Linked DNA regions of Homo sapiens: region 1 is linked to region 2. The links are contacts of gene promoters, found by promoter capture Hi-C in blood cells and fetal thymus (Javierre and others, 2016). All regions are on one chromosome and are shown on one strand. The core of a region is centred on a gene start or on the middle of the fragment in contact, and the rest is flanking DNA. Distances in the headings are between cores, read along the strand shown.

Region 1 (6,124 bases), core at 2,847-5,346, 140 kb before region 2:
TTAAGCAGAGGATATCTCCTTTGAATGTCTTGGGCCTCCATGCCAGGTCCCATTTAGCAAAAGTTTCCACCACTAAAGCATCATTTGGAATCCGCCGGATGAGATCATCTGCAGCATAGTTCTGGCCCTGACTGCTCTGCCCCTCCAGCCCTTGGCCTAAGCCGATTCCACACTTCCGCTTTCCTCTCTCCTGCCTCCCCATCGGGGCCCTGCCCTAGGGAAGGGGAGTTAGGGCCAGGCTTCCCTCCAGCTGTTCAGTAGGGCCCAGTCCACACCCCGCACTGACCTCTGCAGTCAGCTGGTGACCAGGAGCCCTGGTCACTGCCATCGCCACAGTTGTCCATGCCCCAGGGGTCACACACGAGGCTTGAGGGGATGCACCTGCCATTCTGGCAGCGGAAGTAGGCACCACAAGGTCCTGAGGCCAGAAGCAGAAGCCTGAGGTGAGGATTCCGGTCCAGCCCACGACACAGCAGGATGTGTGGCCCCCATGGTGACAGTGTGGGGGTGTGGGCAGGAGAGAGCTGCCCTCATGCATGCAGATGAGAACATGGATGAGTGTTTCATGGGGAGGAGGGTGGAGGATGGCAGCTAACATGTACTGACTTCCTCTTCTGTGCCATGCACAGCCGTAAATACTACACATCCTGGCCCATTGAGGCCTCACAATACCCCTATGGGGCAAGTACTGTTATTAATTTTATTATTTTTTAATTATTATATTTTTTAAATTATTTTTTGTTGTTGTTTTAGGCAGGTCTCTCTCTGTCACCCAGGCTGGTCTTGAATTCCTGAGCTCAAGTGATCCTCATGACTTGGCCTCCCAAAGTGCTGGGATTACAGGCGAAAGCCACGGCGCCCAGTTGGGCGAGTATTATTAATTTCAGTTCCAAGAGGGCCCTTTCCTGGCTTGAGTTGGTTTCTGCTGCCTACAGGCCTGGCGAGTCCTAAGCACACCCTTCTGCAAACATCTGAAGGGCTGACCCAGCGCAGAGCAGCCAGCATGTGGCATGAGAGCATGTGAGCTGTGTGTAAGTGTGCAAGGCGGTACTGTGTGCATATGAGGTGTGTGATGGTGAGTGTGCAGTGTGAGGCGTGTGCTGCAGTGAGAGGCATGAGTGTGGAGTGTGTGGGGGCGATGAGGTGCGTGGGTTGTGCGTATGTGACATGGGTGTGGATGTCAGAGTGTGAGGTGTGAACGTGTGGGAGTTGTGTGTGAATGTGTGTGGGGAGGAAGTTGTGTGTGGATGTGTGTGGATGTGTGTGCGCACTGGGGCTGGTAGGACAGTCTGACGCACACATCCATGGTAGCCAGATTTATATGGTTGGCTCTTAGGATCCGGGAGGTCCCTTATTGTGACTCTGCCACTAGCCACCACCTTCTTCCCTCCCGTTGGACCCAGTCCCTGCCATCTTGTGCTTCGGGCACCCCTGCCATTCCCCTGTCGGCAGCGGCCCTCACCGGGGCCCCCACTGTGGCCCCAGTCCCGCATGGCCTCTGCAGAGGGTCCCGTCCCGGCCTTCAGCCCCAGCTCACCCAGACGGAAAGAGGTGACTTCGCCCACGAAGTCCACGCGGGGCTGGCGGCCTCTCGTGACCAGGCGCAGGCCTAGAAAGGGTCCGGAGGATGCCACAGGCACCGGGATGTTCAGGCCGCACAGTGGGGACCCCAGGGGCCGGGGCGCCCCCGGCGGGCCCTCGTAGAACTGCAGGTAGGAGCCGGGGGCGCACGGGTCGGCCGGGGCCGGGGAGGAGGTGTTGAGCGCCGGGGGCGCGGGGGTCAGGCTGTAGACCAGGAAGAAGCGGAACTGGAAGCGGATCCGGTCGCCGGGGGCTGCCGCCTGCACCCAGAGCCCGCAGTCGGTGTCCGGAGCCACGAAGTAGAACCTGCGCGATGCGGCGTGCGAGCGCAGCAGCAGCCCGTCCCCCTGCCACGTCTGCCCGCACAGTTCCGCCAGGTCGGCTGCAGCGGAAGGCACGGAAACTGGAGCCGCGCGGCGCGACCCCGAACTCTACTCTGTCCCCTGCCCGCTGTGTGATCCCAAGCGAGTTACTCGCCCTCTCTGAGCCTCATTTTCCTCATCGGTAAAATGGGGATGATTAATCAATCTCAGAATGATTGTAAGGATTAAATGATTTAATTTAATTTAATTCAAATCTACAATCCCTTATTCGAAACCCTAAGATGCGGGGCCGAGCGCAGTGGCTCACGCCTGTAATCCCAGCACTTTGGAGGCCAAGGCAGGTGGATCACCTGAGGTCAGGAGTTCGAGACCAGCCTGGCCAACATGGTGAAACCCCATCTCTACTAAAATACAAAAAATTAGCCGGGCATGGTGGTGCGCACCTGTAATCCCAACTAATCGAGAGGCTGAGGATGAGAATCGCGTGAACTCTGGAGGCGGAGGTTGCAGTGAGCTGAGATCAAGCCACTGCACTCCAGCCTGGGTAACACAGCGAGACTCCGTCACCAAAAAAAAAAAAGGGGAGGGGGAGAGCTGTGTGATAAGGAGCCCCTTTTCTTCCTGCTTTTGAAAGCTGCTGACTGAGGATGAGGATGGGATGTCCAGAGCTGCAGCAGCCATTTTGCAAAGATGAGGTCAGAGCATTTCAGAGGAACAGTGACATTGTTGAGCCGTTGAGTTAACCATCTCTGGAATCACCTATGACCACTCTTAACTGAAATAGCAAATATCCTACCATTTAAGCCCCATTTAGTTTGTTATCTGTTACTTACAGCCCAAAACATCCTCACTGGTACAGGGTTGTTGTGAGGATTAAATGAGAAGATGTGCAAGTACTCAAAGTAGCCCTGATTTCTGTAAGCACAGAGAGGAAAGAGGAGGTGGGTTTTCTGGTGCAAGATAGGGACCAGTGGGTACTTGAGGACCAGCCAGGATGTGGGTCTTTGAGGAAAAAATCCTTCATCAGAGCTCAGGATGTGGGAGCACTTTCCAATATTTGGTATTTCTCTGCTAAAGCCAGAGCCTACCCTGAAGGTACACAGGGCAGGCATGGAGTTTAGAGAGTAAGGGAATTGGGCACCCTTTTTTTTTTTTATTTCTTTGAGACGGAGTCTCTCTCTGTTGCCAGGCTGGAGTGCAGTGGCGCAATCTCGGCTCACTGCAGCCTCCGACTCCCTGGTTCAAGCGATTCTCCTGCCTCAGCCTCCCAAGTAGCTGGGATTACAGGCACATGCCACCATGCCCAGCTAATTTTTGTATTTTTAGTAGAGATGTGGTTTCACCATGTTGGCCAGGATGGTCTTGATCTCGTGACCTCATGATCCGCCCGCCTCGGCATCACAGAGTGCTGGGATTACAGGCGTGAGCCACTGCGCCCAGCCGGGAATTTGGCACCTTTTATGTGCCAGGTATTATGAAGTGCCTTGCATGACTTATCTCATCTTATATGCCAATAATCATAGTCCCTTAAGGGGCAAGGGCCTATTATTTTCATTTTACTGCCAAAGAAATTCAGAGAGTTGAAACAATGATCTCAAAGGTACAAACATAAGAAGTGGCAGAGTGTGTAAATGCAGCTTCTCTGAATCCGAAGCCTACAGAGTTTTGCAAAGCAGGCCCTGAGGGCTGTCCTGCCCACTCCCAGACTCCTGCTTCTAGGTGACTGGCAGATCCAAGCCTTCCAGAAGGCTTTGGGTTGGATTTGGGGATGCCAAGCAAGACCAGACACAGTTTCCCAGCCTCCCCCAGCTCAAAAGGTCTCAGCCCAGCAGGATGAGTGCTGACTGGGGAAACATAGTCTCTAAGGATGGTGGGGGCCCAAGTCTTCTGGGTGCCCCAACCAAGCCCCCTGATACTTACCTGTCTCCAAAGCAGTTGCAGTCAGGGCGGCTGCCCCCAGCAAGAGCAACCTTTGGGGCAACTGCAGAAGACAACAAGCCTCCATCCAGGCTCTGCTGTGCCCAGCAATGGGGCAGACCCACAGAATCTTCAGCTTGGGGTCTCTGGGGAGACTGGAGTATGGGGCCTGGTCAGGCCAGCAGGGAGGCTGGTGGGACACAAGGAGAAGGGGGAGGCAAGTCTTCACTATGATCTTAGTGCTTTGCCTTCCAGATCCTCTTCATTTGGTTCAGAACTGTGTCCAGGGGTTGCCATGGAGATTTGGAGCAAGGGCTAGAGCCTGGGGAGAGGAGGCAGGGAGGAGATCTGCTCCCCTTCTGCCAGACAGGAACCAGGAAACTCAGATCCGGTTCAGCCATAGGGCTTCTGGGAGGAGGACCCACAGGAAGCCAGATCTGCTACCTTCCTAGATCAGCTGGCCCCTTAGGGACTGAGCTTGAGGGAGGTCCAGGACACCAAAGGAGCCTCTCTGAGGGCCTAGAGAGCAGCAGGCAGAGAAGGAGCACTGGACCAGGAGTCTGCTGTATTACTAACAAGCCATTCCTGCCTCAGGGCCTTTGCACTCATAGATCCCTCTGTCTGGAGTGTTGTCCCCCCATAGCAGTGCACGGCTGACTTCTTCAGGTCATCAGGTTGTGGCTCACATGTTACCTCCACAGACCACACTCTCCTGACCACCTCTCCAACTAAATTAACACTCTCTCTCTTTGTCACTCAATCACATCTCAAATGTATCATCCCAGCACTGTCTGGAATTATTTTGCCTATTCATTTCTTCTTGTATATATTGTCCACTGGCCTCCACTAAAATTATATTCCATGAGTATCTTGTTTACCTCTGAACCCTTATGTCATAGCACAGTCACTGGCACAAGGCAGGCGCCCAGGAAATAATGAAAGAATAAGTGTGTGGCATTGAACAAATGACCCCTTTTTCTGGATTTTACTTTCCCATGTGTAAAATAAATACCCTGGACTAATTCAGACTTTTTCAAAACGTGTTATTAGTAGAACAATTTTTTTTCAAAAGGTATGTTACAAGGAACCTTTATCTATAAAACTGAAGCTTTTCAAGCCCTGGCATCCTTCTCTGGAAAATGGGATAATGATTAATTCCAACCACATAGTTGCATTGTAAGAATTAAGTAACTTGGCCTGGCTTGGTGGCTCATGCCTGTAATCCCAGCACTTTGGGAGGCAGAGGTGGGTGGATCACAAGGTCAGGAGTTCAAGGCCAGCCTGGCCAACATAGTGAAACCCCATCTCTACTAAAAATACAAAAAAAATTAGCCGGGCATGGTGGTGCATTCCTGTAGTCCCAGCTACTCAGGAGGCTGAGGCAGGAGAATCGCTTGAATCCGGGAGGTGGAGGTTGCAGTGAGCTGAGATTGTGCCACTGCACTCCAGCTTGAGCAACAGAGTGAGACTTCATCTCAAAAAAAAAAAAAAAAAAAGAATTAAGTAACTTAATACAAGTGGGGTACTTGGAATAGTGTCTATCATGTAGTAAAGTAACCAATGTATTTCAGCTTGAATGATGATCATTAATGTCATCGTTATTATTTAAGCAGATGTTTCAAGTGTGGGGGAGGGGAGGAGCTAAGCAGCCCAAATTGGCAGTGCCTGAGACACCACCTCAAAATCCCAGGAATCCATGAGAAGGTTAAGACCTCTGGACCTGGCCGGGCACAGTGGCTCACACCTGTAATCCCATCACGTTGGGAGGCCAAGGCAGGCGATCACCTGAGGTTGGGAATTCGAGAGCAGCCTGGCCAGCATGGTGAAACCCCATCTCTACTATAAATACAAATATTAGCCGGGCGTTGTGGCACAGAGGCTGAGGCACAATAATCGCTTGAACCCGGGAGGCGGAGATTGCAGTGAGCCGAGATTGCACCACTGCACTCCAACCTGGGCGATAAAATAAAAAAAAAAAAAAACCCAAAACAAACACCTCTGGACCTATTATTCCCTAACAGCTCTCCCTCCTGGAGCGGTCATTTGATGCAACCTTGATTTCCTACAGTGTATGATGTCCAAATCTGTACCTTGGGGAACTCCAAAAAGACTCAAATCTTCCCTCAGCAAGAATGAATTTATCATGAAGCCCACTGAAGCTTAAACTTCAGAACTCATCACCTGCATGGGATTATATGGTTTTTGTTTTGTTTTGTTTTTGTTTTTGTTTTTGTTTTGAGACTGAGTCTTGCTCTGTCGCCCAGGCTGCAGTGCAGTGGCGCAATCTTGGTTTGTTGCAAGCT
Region 2 (5,832 bases), core at 3,151-5,650:
TTGCTCTCGGACAGGGAGGGAGGCAGCCTTATAACAGCAGCTGGAATGGCTGCTTGAATTCCAAATCTGCGTTAGTGCTGCCAGGCGAGGCAGGCCCTCAGCCACAGGAAGTGGGGCACGCACTCCAGGGAGGCCAGGAGGCCGACGCAGCCACTGCCTGGGTTGGATTGTTGCCTGCTGGCACACTGGCCTCTGCACAATTCTATCTGGGTTTTCCTTTCCCTGGTGCTCTGGTGTTTTGTAACCAAGGGAATGCTAAGCTGCAACCAGTTCCTTTTATGATCCTGGACAAGTCTGTTCCCCTTTGAGCCTCGGCGTTCTCTCTGAAAGGAAGTGGGATGTGTAGAAGTTGTCAAACATGAACTCCGTGGAAGTAGATAGTGGGGCCTCCTCCCACACCCACCTACTCCCTTGAGGAAGCTCCAGGCAGTACATTTGGAAAGCTACCAAACAGGACTACCTCTCAGGACTTCTCTTGTTTTATTAGTCTCTGAGCTGCCTCTTTGGTTGGTTTATCTGGAGTTTTTGTAGCATCTTCTCACTCATCCACAGCATGTCACTTGTTCTCTGGATGAAGGAGGCTCCAAGTCATGCTAGACTGTGGAGTTCTGGAACTAGAGTATACTGTTTATTTCCTGTACTGGAAGCCAGAGTTAGGGCCAGGCTGGATTTTATGTCTGCACCTAAAACCATTCAGTCCCCCACAAATGAATCAACCTAATTAGTGCTAGACTGTTGTAGCTCCCTGAGAGCAGGGCTCTGGCCATCTTACCACTGTATTCCCACAGCGGCCCGCATGATACATCCTCAGTAAGGAAAAATGAATGACTACTTTGGAATCTGTTAGAAGTTTTCCCGTGGCCCCTTGGGGGAGAGCTCTTTTTACTACTTTGGTTTGACCAGTACTGTCCCTACCTTCAGGCTTTTCTTCTTTGTCCTCAAAACAGGGACTTCCTAACTATTCATGATCCAAAGTCCTCTAACCCCAGGGGTAGTCTCTGTCATGTCTGCTGCACCAGGTTGGCAGCCTCCCACCCAGACGGGGGCCGCTGGCCCTTCCCTGATGCGTGTGCCCTGGCGCCGACTGCCACTCTTCATCCTGCCTTGCTGTGGTTAGAGTGGAACTGTCCTCTGCTCCAAGCCGCCCCTGAAGCCCACCCTCCTTGCCGGCCTTTCCTAGACCTTACCTGTGGCTCTGTGGACAGCACACCTTGAGGACTTGCTGCTTTGGGGTTTTCTTCCCCTACTTGCTCTGGTGGGCAGTTCCTATCTCAGTTTTTCTCCCATTTGATCTGACTGGGAAGGAGTGGGCGGGCAGAGATGGGGAGTTATTTCCAAGAGGCATCATTCCCATTTTAGGACTGTTCCCCCCTCCCTCACCTGCAGTCTCATGCATTATTTGGAGTTTACCGTGGTGCCACCCATGTTTTCGTTCTCCAGCCTTTTTGGATGCCAGATTTTTAAAGCCAGCTTTCATTTCTCAGTGATAGGGAGCACAGAGATGGTGGCTGGGTCGCAATGTATTAAGTGTCTGAGACAAGGCTTGTGCCCAGAGGCAGCCATGCGTGAGTGGTCAGTCCTGAGTGGTTTGGATTGAAATAGGACAGGGAAAGCAAAGCTCCGGGGCCTTTGTCCAATCTTCCCCCTCAGTAGCTAGGCTGCATGCCAAGCTCTGTGCCCAGCCCCCTACGGCACGTGCTGCCTCCTCGCCAGGGGCCCTGACAGTCTCAGAATGGTGCCCCCCAGGACACATGGGAGATTATAAGCCTCTTGCATTGAGGGAGGTTTTCTGTAAAGGGGAAAATGCTGTAATTGAAAAGCTCCTTGATTATAAAGAAGAAATAGAGACGCCTGGCATAGAAGAGACTTCGTTCTTTGGTCTGCTCAGCCAGGGTCGGGGACATTCAGTACCCCCAGGCTAATAGGCTCTTGAGCTCTTAAGGACCTTGGAGTCTGCAGGTCCAGACTCCAGAAGGTTATGGGACCATGAAGAGGTCACACAGCTGTACCCCTTGGCTTGCTGCATTTCTGCATCTCCAGTGCCTCCATCTGCCCCCTCCCTCCAGCTCAGGTGGGACACCTTTGTCTCCACTCAGCACTCTGGGATGTACCATCAGCAATGCCTGGCCAGAATTGAGGGTCTCTGTCTTAAAGCGTGGAGGAGAAAGGGGCCCTTTTGGAACAGGAGTTAGGGAAGCAAGAAGCATGAAGATTGTGCTCAGAATTGAATTCAGGGAGCAATGCATAAAAAAGCGAGAGGATGGGTAGAGAGATGGTGCTTAAAAGGATCCTGGAATCCATGTACTTCTGAGATCTGTGAGCCCCGCCCCTGCTGAAGATGAGCCAGCCCCACCCAGTACATGCTGCCCTTGAAGGTCTATAGGCATTCTGCTGGCATTTCCTAAGTAGGATGTATTTGACCAAGCATCTCCCAGGACCAGAGCCCTGCAGGACATACCTGTCTAGGGCAGTTGCTATGCCCCACAGTCCCTTCACCATCATCCCCAGAAGCGCCTCGGCCAGCCTCATTCAACTTCTTGCCTTTTTATTACAGTGTTTGAGCCAACTATATAGTCCTGGTGTATTCCTAGGCAGGAGATCAAAGGGCCCCCCGGGTTGGGTGGTCCATGAGTGAGCATGTGATACCGCAGGAGTCTTCCTCCTGCCCTGACAACTTGCCTTGTACTACCAGTGCTGCTCAGGATGTCTGCAGCCACGAAGCTTCATTATAAATGCAGGAGCTCAGGCTCCAGGCCCACTGAATCTGAATCTGAGTCTACAGACCGCTCCTGCACTCTTAGAAGTTTGAGAAACCCCCCTGGGCTGGGGTCTCTTTCCCATATACAGCTAGGGAAGCTTGCTGGAGGGAGGACTGAAAAGAACAAGTGCCTGATCTACCTTCCCCTCTGCCCTTTCACAGGTGGGTGGATGCGTGGGAAGAGGGTGGGGCATTTCCTGCTATTCCCCCTTATTCACCTTTTCTCCACGGGGATTAGAGTCTTGACCGGAAAACATGGCTCTGGTCCCCAGCCCCTATGGGACTGAAAACCCGGAGGCTTGCATGTCTCAGATCCTCCAGAGGCTGATGTAAGAGTTGCTGAAGACCTCGGATCTTTCCTTTTGTGAAATGCAGCCCATGTGGCCGGGAAAATAGTGGGAGCTGGAAGTAACAGTTGTGGTTTTAAGCACACAGTAGATGCTCAAGAAATATATTGAGTACATGTCTTGGACTTTCCCCTCCCTAAATATTATCTGTCAAGTGGGCCTATTGGACTTGTTGACCTTGGAGGGCCCTGTCGGCTTGACCCACCAATTCGAAATGGTTGAGAAAGAGGTCTGTCTTTGTACCTTTTGCAGCCTGTTTTCCCAGTTCTTAGAACATTGGGGTGAGATCCAGAGATTTCAGAGATCCCCCTGGAACACGAGTGTTCTGTGACGAGTTCATGACCTTGGAGCCACCAACCATACCCCTCACCCGTTGTCCCCAGTTCTGGCCTTGCCGACCCACTGCGTGTTTCTTTGCTTCATGTGGGCTGTTCCCCGGGGAGGGAGCTCAGTGGAGAACAGAAAGAGGTGTGGGTGAGGGCTCCCCCTTGGTGGGGAGTGGGGCACAGGAGCCTCAGGCTCTGTTGACCATCAAAGAAGGGACTCGAGTGGGCAGGCCGCTCACTTGCTGTGGACCTTGGGCAAGTCTCTAACTCTCCCTGGGCCTTGGAAGTCAGGCCGAGGTGATCTCTGCCGCCCCCTCCCTGCCTGGGTTTTCACTCTTGTTCTGATCCCACTCTCTTCCGGGTGCCTCCCTTCCACTTCTCCGTAGCCTGTGGCTCCCCTCCCCACACCCGCCCTGGGCCCGGGTTAGGCTGGGGCGGGGGCGAGCTGCCCAGTCCAGAGACAAAGTCCAAGAGCCGCGAATGGGCTGGCGAGGGTCAACCGCGTGGCCTCTGCCAGGAAGCGCGCCGAGCGCCCGGGTGAGGAGGGCGTCAGCCAGGGCACAGCAGCTTTCTCGCCCAGCGAAGCCTGTGCGCCTTCCTCCCGCGCCTGCAGACAAGCGGAGCCCATGGGGGCCGTGGGCCCCACCTATCCCGACGTCTCCACTTGATCCAGAAGTTGTCCCAGTCCCCTTGGAGCATGAGCTGTTGCCTGGACAGCTGGGCTGTCGCCCAGGTTCTGCCACTGTCTAGCTGTGTAACCTTGAGCCAGTCCCTGCCCCTCTCTGGTCCTCAGTTTCCCCACCTGTAAAATGGGGGCACCGAGAACCCTCCTCCAGGACCTGCGGCGGGGCGGGGCGGCAGGGCGGGGGCCTCCCCGCCGCTCCCGCGCCCGCGGCTTGGGCTCCGCAGTGAGTGGGGAGCGGCGCCGGGGAAGGAGCGCTCCGCGGTCATGTGACGTCCCCCTCCCCGAACTGCGGCGGCGGCGAGCGCCGGCCGCATCTGAGCAGAGCTGCAGCGGCGGCCGCGGGCACCAGAGTGCCGAGCCCAGGACGCCCCCGGCCCAGGCCCTTGGGTGAGTGCGCCCCGCCAGGGCTGCGGCCCTGGAAAGGGGAAGGGGACAGAGGTGTCCAGACTCCCGTCGGCTCGCAGCGAAGACCCCGCGCGGGCGGGCGGGGACGGAGGGTGGGGGCGAACGCGTGGGGGACCCGGGTCTCCAGGGGCGAGGGGTGGGCGCAGCTGGGCTCGCGCAGCCCGGTCTTGACAGCAGCTGGAGAAGTGGGGGGAGGCCTGGACTGAGCCGGCTGAACCCCCAGCCTGTTGGACTTGGTCCAGGCCGCGGCCAGGGGGCTTTGGTCCCACCCCCCTGGGTGGGTGGGGAGTCCAGTTTTCCGCCCACCTCGAGGTGGGGGCGCCTGGGGTTTAGAGGAGGGACTGTGGGAAGTGGGCGCGTTTCCTCCATCCCTGGGGAGGGGCCCAAGCCCTAGCGCCCCCCAGAGGGTGGCGCTCCTGTCCTCAGAGGAGGGAAGTGGGGGCCTCAGATCAAGGACCCTGAGCGGGGAGGGCGGTGATGTCCTTGCATCCCCAGAGACAGGACGCATTCCCCTGTCCCTGACCCCCGCGGCAGAGCGGGGCACACGCGTCACGAAGTTGGGCGCCCCCTCGTCGCCTCCCCTGGCTCGGCAGGATCTGAGGACTCGGTGGGAATTCACGGGGCGGTTTCCGTGCCCTGCAGGGTTTGGTGCCAGCTGCGGGGCGCCTGGGCTTGGGGAAGAAACCTTGTGTACGCACACCTGCACACACACACAGTCTCCGGAGGTGAGCGGCCCCCTCCCTACCATAACAGACCCCAGCCTGTGCATGCCCTCGGAGTCCTTGTTGGGGTCATAGCACAGGCCCGGTGGTGGGGTCAGGAAGAACATCCACTGTTCTCAGGGCTCATTGGCCTCTGTCCCCGGGCTCCATTCCCCTCCCTGCCAAGTCAGAGGTCAGGCCCCTGGGGCGGCAGGCAGGAAGGACACTGAGGGAAGGGGCACTGAGGCAGGAGGGGCACTGAGGGAAGCTGGCCAGGTGGAAGTAGGAGAGAAAGGCAATGGGGGTGAGATGGTACCACTTCCTCCCCATATGAGGCTCTCAGGAGGCTCCTGGCCCCCCCTGCACAGGTAGTGGTCCCTCCTTCCTGAGGGTGTTTGGGGGAAAACGCTATGGTTGGGGCACTGGGGAAGGTTGCCTCGCAGATGAAACAGAACATTGGCCAAAGGTGTCCCTGAATGGGCTTCTGGACTGGCACAGGGCCCTGAGGGCTGTGGCTGAGTGGGGAGGCAGTGATCAGGTCCAGCTGGCCATGGGGGCCCCCCATTCCCTTCTCCATGACCTCAGCCTCACTCTGAGAGCCCCCAGCAGC

What was found. The method cuts DNA at HindIII sites, captures the fragments that hold promoters and counts their contacts. A CHiCAGO score of 5 or more calls a contact.
Region 1: a contact is called between the fragment with the promoter of LDLRAD2 here and the fragment with the promoter of RAP1GAP in region 2, in 1 of 17 cell types (erythroblasts). The highest score is 5.6, in erythroblasts.

What each region holds. Positions count from the first base shown.
Region 1 is chr1:21,810,237-21,816,360 of GRCh38, reverse strand. It overlaps LDLRAD2 (low density lipoprotein receptor class A domain containing 2), which reads right to left and starts at 4,096. Exons shown (of 5, transcript NM_001013693.3): 1 at 3,825-4,096; 2 at 1,538-1,963; 3 at 287-418. The coding sequence starts at 3,909. RefSeq lists silencers at 1,612-1,731, 5,460-5,610 and an enhancer at 4,011-4,305. The HindIII fragment of the contact is 31,080 bases long and covers 1-4,931 here.
Region 2 is chr1:21,667,925-21,673,756 of GRCh38, reverse strand. It overlaps RAP1GAP (RAP1 GTPase activating protein), which reads left to right and starts at 4,400. Exons shown (of 25, transcript NM_002885.4): 1 at 4,400-4,503. RefSeq lists an enhancer at 2,481-3,680 and a silencer at 4,329-4,478. The HindIII fragment of the contact is 8,301 bases long and covers 2,859-5,832 here.